Linked DNA regions of Homo sapiens: regions 1 and 2 are each linked to region 3. The links are contacts of gene promoters, found by promoter capture Hi-C in blood cells and fetal thymus (Javierre and others, 2016). All regions are on one chromosome and are shown on one strand. The core of a region is centred on a gene start or on the middle of the fragment in contact, and the rest is flanking DNA. Distances in the headings are between cores, read along the strand shown. Region 1 has its middle 13 kb from the start of ADAMTS6. Region 2 overlaps CENPK (centromere protein K). Region 3 holds the start of SHISAL2B (shisa like 2B).

Region 1 (3,283 bases), core at 719-3,218, 800 kb before region 3:
CATAAATACTTTGGAAAAAAAACAAACAGCAAAGTATAAAGATGAAAATTAAAAACCCCACCACCCAGAGATAACCACTTGTAACCTTTTTTTATTACTTAACCTTGATCCTAACTGTATGACATGTGCTAGAAAATATGAAATTATGATCCTAATTTTATGAAGTAAAGTGTTTACGTATGCATTTTATGTATATGCTTATAATGTTCTTTATGATTATACTATATAATGAGCTCTGCTTCTTTTACTCTTTGTTGTATTTTTCTCATAACTAGGTAATATTAGAAAAAACATTTTTAAGGCTACTGGATTATTAACAAAGTAGGAGTACCATCATTTATTTTAACAATTTTTCTATTATTGGCTATTGAGGTTGTTCCCAGTCTTTCACTCTTAGAAATAGCACCGTGATCAATGTCTTTATGTAAATTCCTAGAAATAGAGACACTAGGTCAAAGAGTATAAGTGTTTTGTTTTGTTTTGTTTTGTTTGAGACAAGGTCTCTATAGCCCAGGCTGGAATGCAGTGGTATAATCATGGCTCACTGCAACCTCAACCTCCCTGGCTCAAGTGATCCTCCCACCTTAACCTCCTAAGTAGCTGGGACTACAGGTGTGCCCCACCATGCCTGGTTAATTTTTTGTGTTTTTTGTAGAGACGGGGTTTTGCCATGTTGCCCAGACTGGTCTAAAACTTCTGGGCTCAAGCAATCCACTCACCTTGGCCTCCCAGAGTGCTGGAATTACAGGCATGAGCCGCCTTGCCTGGCCACTAAGGCTCTTGATTAATATTGCCAAATGCCTTTCCAGAAAGGTTGAAGCAATTTATACCACCACCAGCAGTGTATGAGAGTGCCCATTTAATGGAACCCTTGCCAACAATGAGTATTTTTTAAAATTTTGTCTATTTGATTATAAAAATCTTGTTTTAATTTATATTTATTGGATTATAAGTGAGATGGAACTTTTTTTCATAGATTACTGGCTGTTTGTATTTCTTCTTTTGTGAATTTTTTGTTTCCTTGATCGTTATTCTAGAACAGTGCTGAATAGACACCTAATGCAAACTGTGTATGTAATTTTATAATAAATTTTCTTGTGGCCTCATTAAACAAGTAAAAAGAAACAGGTGAAATAAATTTTAATGATAAAATTATTTTAGTAATAAAAAATCTTAATAAAATTTATTTAACTACATACACCCCAAATATTATCATTTCAACATTGGCACTAGCTACATTTCAAGTGCTCTTGTGAGTAGTGGCTACCATATTGGACAGTGCAGATTCAGAACGTTTCCATCATAGTGGAAAGTTCAACTGGACAGCACTAGCATGGAGCTAGAGCTTTTGATATTTTTTTATAAGGAAACTTTATATATTTAGTTTTTGTCTATCCTATTTGTTGTAGTTTTTTCCAGTATGCCGTTAACCTTTTAATTTTGTTTATTCTTTTTATTTACTAATATTCAAACAATATAGGTGGATCTGTCATTCTTTCCCTTTGTTGTCTATTCCATTGTTTTAGGTCTACCTATTCCCAGATAGTTAATTCTTCACCTATATTTTCTTCTGTCCCCCCACCCCCATGTTTTTACAGACAGGGCCTCATTATGTTGCTTAGGCTGGGAGTGCAGTGGCTATTCACAGGCATGATCATAGCACACTACAGCCTCAAACTCCTGGCCACAAGCGATCCTCCTGCCTTGGCCTCCCAAGAAGTTAGGACTACAGTGACACACTACTGAACCAGGCTACCCTAGATTTTTTAATGGCTTCATTTGTAATGCAGTTATTTAATCCTGAAATTTATCACATTATTTTAAAAGTGTACCTGATTTATCAAGAAGCTTACTATGGTTGCATGTCTATCAATTTCTCCTTGGAGTTTGTAAGAGTTTCTATTTTAAGTATTTTGATGCTGTGTTATTTAGTGCATAACAGTTCGGGATTGTTGATCATTGTAAAGGACTATGATTCTCCTGGTCCTTTGTAGTAGTTTTTATTTTGACTCTACTTTATTTGAAATTAATATTGTCACCCCTGGTTTGGGTGGCAGTATTTCCCTAAGAAATCATTGCCCAAGCTTTAATTTTTAACCTTCCAATTTTATTTTGCATATACTTTTGTAATTATTGTTTTTGTGTGTGTGTGTGTGTGTGTGTGTTTGTGTTTTTTTTTTTTTTTTGAGACAAAGTCTCACTCTGTCTCCCAGGCTGGAGTGCCAGTGGCATGATCTTGGCTCATTGTAACCTCCACCTCCCAAGTTCAAGTGATTCTCCTGCCTCAGCCTCCTGAGGTAGCTAGGATTACAGACGTCTGCCACCATGCCAAGCTAATTTTACAATTTTAGTAGAGATGGAGTTTCACCATGTTGGCCAGGCTGGTCTCGAATTCCTGGCCTCAAGTGATTCACCCACCTCAGCCTTCCAAAGTGCTGGGATTACAGGCGTGAGCCACTGCACCCAGCCTTTTGTAATTATTTTTGTAACTGTGATTTAATCTTAACTCTGTTAAATTGATTTTTTTTCTTATTGCTGGTCCTTTTATATGTCAATTTCTCCCATTTTTGAGTTGTTATTTTTTATATCACTTAGACTGCTGATATATGCCTTCAATAATTACTTTCAAATACATATCTTATAGTCAGTATTCAATAAATATTGCCTGCATAAAATAATAAATGAATGAATGAAGGAAGGAAGGATGTTAAGCCTTTACACATCATAGAATGTCTTTCTGTTCTGTGGTAAAAAGCGTATGACTTTTTGTTTTATGAAAAGTCTACTTTTTACTCTTGAATGATGGTCTCATGTCTCTCTCTTTTTTTTTCAACAAACAATTTTTTAGCTTTTTTTTTCTTTTAAACATTTAAACATTTTACCAGGATATGTCTAGGTTTTGGTTTCTTTACATTGATTTTACCAGGAAAAGAATGAAACTTTTAATCTTCTAATTTAAGTCATTCTTAAATTCAGGAAGGTTTTTTTCTGGTATGTATTTGTCTGTTTTTGTACAGTTGTTCTGAATCCATTTTTCAGGAATATGACTAATTTTGAGATTGGATCCCAGGTTCTAACCCTCATATCAATAATTAATTTTCATCTGTTTGCTCATTTTATGTATATTTAGAAGGATTTTTGGCAAATGACATAAGATGAGGAATTAAGTTTTTTTTTCTAATTAGCTTGCCTTCTCAAAACTGAAAAAATACACGTTTATTTTCTATATCTTTCATTCTGTTTTTATTTTTTAATTTATTTTTTATTTTTTATTTTTATGGGC
Region 2 (3,296 bases), core at 174-2,673, 840 kb before region 3:
CCATGCCTGGCTAATTTTTTTATTTTTTATTTTTGGTTTTTTGTAGAGATGGGATCTCACTATGTTGTTAAGGCTGGTGTTGAATTCCTGGTCTCAAGCAGTCCTTCCACCTTGGCCTCCCAAAGTGCTGAGATTACAGGCGTGAGCCACTGTGCTTGGCTAAGATAACGATTCTTTACATTGAAAAAGATCCACCAAATTTCCAACACAATGAGTTTAGAATGACCCATGGCAGATGATCCAGCAAAATTTTTCCCTTTCATAGCAACTCTTAGCAACCCCAAACTAGCAACTGTAGCTTAGAGTGGCCAGAATCCAAACTTGATGCAGTGCCAGCATCTGTCCCAAAAACTTTCATTTTAGCTATTTTTCATTACAGTTAAAAATAAGAAGGGGATTGTATATTTAGCTTGTTTCTCATTTTACATTTTGTTGTATATTCAGTGAGCCAGCTCTACAGGAGCTGGTTCTATCATTGTATATTTTACTGGTAACTTCTACCTACAGTAACTTATCGCAGTGCAGCTGTTGTTTTATACCATCGGTGACTCAGTAACCATCTGACATCAAACTTTACCCGCCCTGTAATCCTTCCTTTTCTCAAACAGTGCTTTCCTTATGTTTCAGCTAGCAGGAGTTATAGGAAATCTCATTTGTAATGCTAGTTGTGTCAGAGTTTTCTCTAAGACTGCCCTCAGGTGCAATGATTTGTGGGATAGACTCACTGGACTCAGAAGAACTGCTGTTCTCTTGGTTGCAGCTTATTAAAGTGAGAGAGAACATTACAATGAACAAAGGAAAAGGCACATGGGATAAGCTTACAAGAGTTCTTTCCCAGTAGAGTTGTGTGGATGCGCTTAATTCTCCCTGCAACTATGTGTGACGTGGCGAGTTGGCAGCCAGAGAATCTCACTTGAGCCTTGTTTAGGGTTTTTATTGGGAGTCAGTCAGGTATTGTGTAACTGACCTTAACTATGTATACTCCATCCGCATAGAGTAAAAATGCATTTAACACAAATCACATAGTTAGCATAAACTCTCTAATCAAGCTGGTGCCATGTGACCCAAGGTTCTAGACATAGAAAAATGCTCATCAAGTAGAGTATTCCAAGGGCTCAGAGCTTTTTTTCAGGGAACTGACCAAGGGCAGTTCTGAAGACAGGCTTTAGTAATGTCCAAGGTTTTTGCAGTCTAGGTCTGCTGAGTTAACTCTTTCCTGCACAACTGTCTTTTCACCTCCCTCCCTCCCTCCCTTCCATCCTCGACAGGGTTTTGTTCTGTCACTCAGGCTGCACTGCAGTGGCATCATCTCAGTTCGTTGTAACCTTGACCTCAGGCTTAAGGGATTCTCCTACTTAAGGGATTCTCCTACTTCAGCCTCCTGAGTAGCTGGGACTATGGGTGTGCACCACCATGTCTGGCTAAGTTTTGTATTTTTTTGTAGAGATGGGATTTGCAATGTTGCCCAGGCTTGTATGCACTCCTGGGCTCAAGTGATCTGCCTGCTTCAGCCTCCCAAAGTGCTGGAACTACAGGCATGAGCCATGGTGCCCGACTTCTTTTCATTTTCTCTGTGGTGTTTTGGAGAACTTAAGTTCATAATTTGATTAACTCCATTTAATCAAGTTTTCTATTAAGGTCTGAGCTCAAATCTAAGAACTGTTTGCCCAACTCAGAATCACAAAGATATTCTCCTGTATTTTCTGTTAAAAGTTTTTAAGTTTTAGGTTTCAGTATTTAGGTTCATGATCCATTTTGAGTTAATGTTTATGTATATATAGTATGAGTTAGTGATATCGGGTCATTTGTTTTCATTTGGATACTGACTGTTCCAGCGGTATTTGTTGAAGAAACTATCTTTTCTTTTTTGAATTTCCTTTACACTTTTGTTGAAAATTAATGACCATGTATATGTGTATCTATTTCTGAACTCTGTTTTTCTCTATTCTGTGCTTTGGATATTTCTGTTTTTTTGTTCTGTGTTTCTGTCTTTAAGCCAATACCACATTATGTTTTTTACCAAAGCTTTAAAATAAGTCTTGAAATCAAGTATTATGAATTCTCTAACTTTGTTGTTCTTTTCAAAATTGTTTCATATTTCCATGTAACTTTTAGAATTGGTTTGTCATTCTGCCCCATAAAAAGCTGGAACTTTGATTGAAATTTCCCTGAATCATAGGTTAATTTGTGGAAGATTGCTATCTTTAACATACTTAGTCTGAATGCAGATCCATTAGCACTGTATCATCTTTGTATTTATTTAGGTCCCCATTTATTTGATATTTAAACATTTTGTCTCACCAGTGTTTTGTAGTTTTCAGCATACAGGTCTTGCACATCTTTTGTCAAGTTCATCCCTTTATTATTTCATAATTTTGACTATTAAATGGTATTCTTTTAAATTTCAATTTTTTTCTTTTTCCTTTTTTTTTTTTTTTTTTTGTTGAGACGGTGTCTCGCTCTGTCACCCAGGCTAGAGTGCAGTGGTGCCATCTGAGCTCACTGCAAGCTCCACCTCCCGGGTTCACGCCATTCTCCTGCCTCAGCCTCCCAGGTAGCTGGGACTACAGGCATCCGCCACTAGTGCGCCTGGCTAATTTTGTTTTGTATTTTTAGTAGAGATGGGGTTTCACCATTTTAGCCAGGATGGTCTCGATCTCCTGACCTCATGATCTGCCCACCTTGGCCTCCCAAAGTGATGGGATTTCAGGCTTGAGGCACTGCACCCGGCCTTAAATTTCAATTTTTATTTATTACTAATAAATACAAATACAATTAATATGTATATATTGATTTTGTATCCAGTGAACTTGAGAAACTTTTATTCTACATCCTTATTATCTGAGATCAAACACAGTTTTACATATCTTTTCCCTTCTGTATAATTTTTATCTCTTTTTGGGGGGTTATTTTGCTGTCCTAGAACTTGTACTTCAGTAAAATATTGAATAGAAACGGTAAGAATGGACATCTTTGCCTTGTTCCTGATGTTATCGGAAAGCATTTGCCCCTTCACCATTAAGTGTGATGTTAGCAGTAGGTTTTTCGTAGACACTTTTAAGCAGATTGCGGAAATTTTCTTCTGTTACAGTTTATGAAGTCTTATTTTATTTTGTTATTTTATTTATTTATTTATTTATTTTGATACAGGGTCTTACTCTGTCACCCAGGCTGGAGTGCAATGGCACGATCTCAGTTCACTGCAATCTCTGCCTCCTGGGTTCAAGCAATTCTCCTGCCTCAGCCTCCCAGTAGCTTGGATTACAGGCACCTGTCACCGCTTTGGGCTAATTTAT
Region 3 (3,077 bases), core at 521-3,020:
GCACATTTTCCAGTTGAGTTTGACTGAGGAATTGCCAGTCCCTGTTGGAGGTGCTTCTGCCATTAGTAACGCCTCCAATGACCCAGAGATAGATTACTCTGTTATTTTCCAAAAGGCCAGATAATAAACCAGTGCAATATAGATTTCTTCCCCATGTAATCTACTAAGGATAAGCTATCATTATTTTCTGACATTTTGCCCCTGTCCAGCAAAATACAATTTTGTCAGTTAAACTTACTGGAAGGTAGGCACTCCTTTTGAGACTTTTTGATGCTTGCAATATAGAAAAATATGTTAATATTTTATTGCTTCAAGAAGTAACATTTAGTCATTTGCTATAGACTTGGCATGTGTGTTAAATTCTGGGTCATGTAGGAGACTGGGAGACATAATCACAATACTTTACCTCTTACTAGCAGACTCCATCTCCTCCAACCCCATAAACTAATGAATATGTACAAAACAATTTAAGGTGGGAGCTCGTTCCTTGATTGTTGAACCCCATTCATTCTTCAAGCAAAATGAAAAATCAAGTTTAAAGTTTGCAGCCCTTCAGAGTGGAAGTGGGAAAAGCAATTCATAATGAAAATGTCTACATCAATACTAGTTGGAATAAGTAAAATAAAATTGCCACTATGGGAAAAAGAAACAAGAAAGACCTCACCTTAGAAAGTCTCTTCACATTCCAGCAATAGCCACATGGCTCGGGTTTCAAGAAAGGGGGTGTCCTGTTCTACAGAGTGTGTGTATAATCATAGCAACCAAAAGCTGTACCTTTCTTGGTGTCGCTTCAATTCTCTCCAGGGTAGGGGTCAGATCCTCCAAAAAGTGCAAGTCGTAAAGCCCAGTTGCTTGCACAGGCCCTCAGGAACACACACACACACACACACACACACACTTTTAAAAATATACATGTATTTTAAAGAACACAGCCAATTCCTTCACACCCCTCAAAGAGTCTTAAAATACTCTGGTCCTTGTTAATGCAGTAAGAAGAGCCCCATAGGAGCCTCCTTTCTCTTCAAATACACCAGATAAACCAAAAAGAGGATTTTAAACCTTCCCCTTGGGTTATCTTCCTGTCCTCGCGCTCCACCAGTAGGGCTATCAGCCTGGGACTGGTCCCGGCGAGGGGAGAGCAGTCGGCTCCCGGGAGGCGGGCGGGGAACTCAGCGGGGCCAGCCAGGCGGGCCCCAAGTGCGCCCTGGGCGCAAAGCCCGCGCTCCTCCAGCGTGCGCCTCGCCTCCTGTCCTGGCTCCCGGGGGAGCTCCGAGCCGGGGCGAGATTTCTCTCCCTGCCCTCACCCGCCCTCAGAGGCTCCGCGTCCTTCCGTAGGGACCTAACCTAGGGCGGATAGCGGGGACGCGGGGGAACCTCCCTGGCCCTGGCGTGGCTCCGCTTGTCGCCTCCCTAGCCCCGGGCTCGGCCAGCCGCCGCACGCGCGGGCTCTCAGCCCACCTGAGGCTCCACATGTAGCTGTGCTTGTAGGGGAAGTAGCTGCCCGGCTCGCTGCAGCAGTACTTGAGGTCGGCGAAGCCGCAGCAATACTGGAGCGCTGCCCCCTCGCCGCGCCGGGGGCACTGGAAGGGCTCCACGAAGCTCTGGTTGAGGCTGTAGTAGCCGGAGCACAGTCGGCTGGCCTCGCTCATCGCGGGCAGGGGCCGGGAGAGGCTCGCGAGGGCCCCGGTCTGCTCTCGGATCGCACCCGTCCAGCACCTCCAGAGCCCGCGGACCCCTCTGCCCGGACTCGGCTCTTCCGATCTGGGCTCTGGCTGCCTGGGCGCTCAGCCTTCGCGCGCCACCTCTGATTTCTCTCCTCCCCTTGTCCACATGGTGTCTGGGCGCCTTACTCTCGCCTCTCCCTCTCGCTGCTGAGCGGTCGCTCCTTTTATCCGCCCATCTCGGCGCCGACTCTCCTCCACTTTCCCTCACTTCATCAGCAGCCTGGAGACCTTAGCTGTCCCCACTCGATGCCAGAAAGAGCTTTCTCCAGAGGGAAAAAAGAAGAGGTGGGACATGTTTTCAGTGCAGGCAGATGCTGCCTAAGTTGCAGTTTTCCTGTCTAGGGACAGGGCAGGTGGATTCTGGGCAAACAGACTGGGTCTGGTGGAGACTTAACTGCCCGGCCATTGACTCAAGGAGTGGAGGAGAGGACCAGATAAAAGGCAGCTGAACACCAGAGAGGCGGAGTTGGTGTTCTCTTTCTTTGAGAAGTAAATGTGAAACATTAAGATCTGCCCATTTAAAAATAAAAAACAAGAAACAAAGTCTCCTGTAACAACTGGCCATGGTGCAGTTGCATTCGGTGTTCAGCTGAAAAATCCAGAAAGTTTAAGAAACGCAAGACATGAAGGTAAAGAAAGTGAGAACTTTCTAGAGAGGGAGGCAGCCAGAGGAAAAAAAAAAGGCAAAGGAAATAGGGAGAAAGAGACCTTCAGTCAGTTTTGATGTGCTGTAGGAACTTCTTTTGTCTCCTTTTTGTTTGATATTCCCATTTTCTTGATTGGTTTGTTCACAAAGCCTTTTTAAAATAACGATGATAATGCATGCTTATTGTGATAAGCCAAACAATGCTTGGGTGTATAAACAAAAAGGTAATAATAGTCTTACGATGGGAGAGGAGGCGATTATAACATTCATAAAATGTACAAGATAGAGCATTGTTTCTCCCTCTTCATTTCTGCTTCCTTCCCTTGGCCAGGGGCTTGATTGGATCCCAGACGTCGAATTTTACCTTGTTGGGTACTGGATGTTTTTGCATTCCTATAAATACTCTTGAGCTTTGTACTGGGATGCAGGAAACAGTTTGAGTCTTTCGGGTTTGTTTTTAATATTTGTTAGGCTGGACTAGATTAGCCTTTAGGACTGAATTTTTCCCCACTACTGAGGCAATACCCTTCGAATTATTCTACCCAAAACTTGTGAATTATAGGGCTTACCATTGTGACTGGTGGGAACACATAAAACACAGAAAAATCCAGAGACAGGCATGACCACAGAGGCCAAATTTCACCAAGCTTGGAGTATCTTGAGGCCTCTGAAGTTCAAACCAACAAAGGAGCCTTTTACCATATGAA

The links. The method cuts DNA at HindIII sites, captures the fragments that hold promoters and counts their contacts. A CHiCAGO score of 5 or more calls a contact.
Region 1: a fragment that was not itself captured here is called in contact with the fragment with the promoter of SHISAL2B in region 3 in 2 of 17 cell types (total B cells and M2 macrophages); the score reaches 5.5 in total B cells.
Region 2: a fragment that was not itself captured here is called in contact with the fragment with the promoter of SHISAL2B in region 3 in 1 of 17 cell types (M0 macrophages); the score reaches 6.1 in M0 macrophages.

Annotation. Positions count from the first base shown.
Region 1 is chr5:65,493,462-65,496,744 of GRCh38, reverse strand. It overlaps a transcript of CENPK not described here. Among named protein-coding and RNA genes, the nearest start is that of ADAMTS6, 13 kb to the right of the region's middle. The HindIII fragment of the contact is 236 bases long and covers 1,851-2,086 here.
Region 2 is chr5:65,533,197-65,536,492 of GRCh38, reverse strand. The region is part of intron 6 of CENPK (centromere protein K); the gene reads left to right. Among named protein-coding and RNA genes, the nearest start is that of CENPK, 28 kb to the left of the region's middle. The HindIII fragment of the contact is 1,208 bases long and covers 820-2,027 here.
Region 3 is chr5:64,689,196-64,692,272 of GRCh38, reverse strand. SHISAL2B (shisa like 2B) reads right to left here and starts at 1,770. Exons shown (of 3, transcript NM_001164442.2): 1 at 1,459-1,770. The coding sequence starts at 1,649. RefSeq lists enhancers at 1,299-1,799, 3,057-3,077, 2,858-3,077 and a silencer at 3,057-3,077. The HindIII fragment of the contact is 3,472 bases long and covers 1-3,019 here.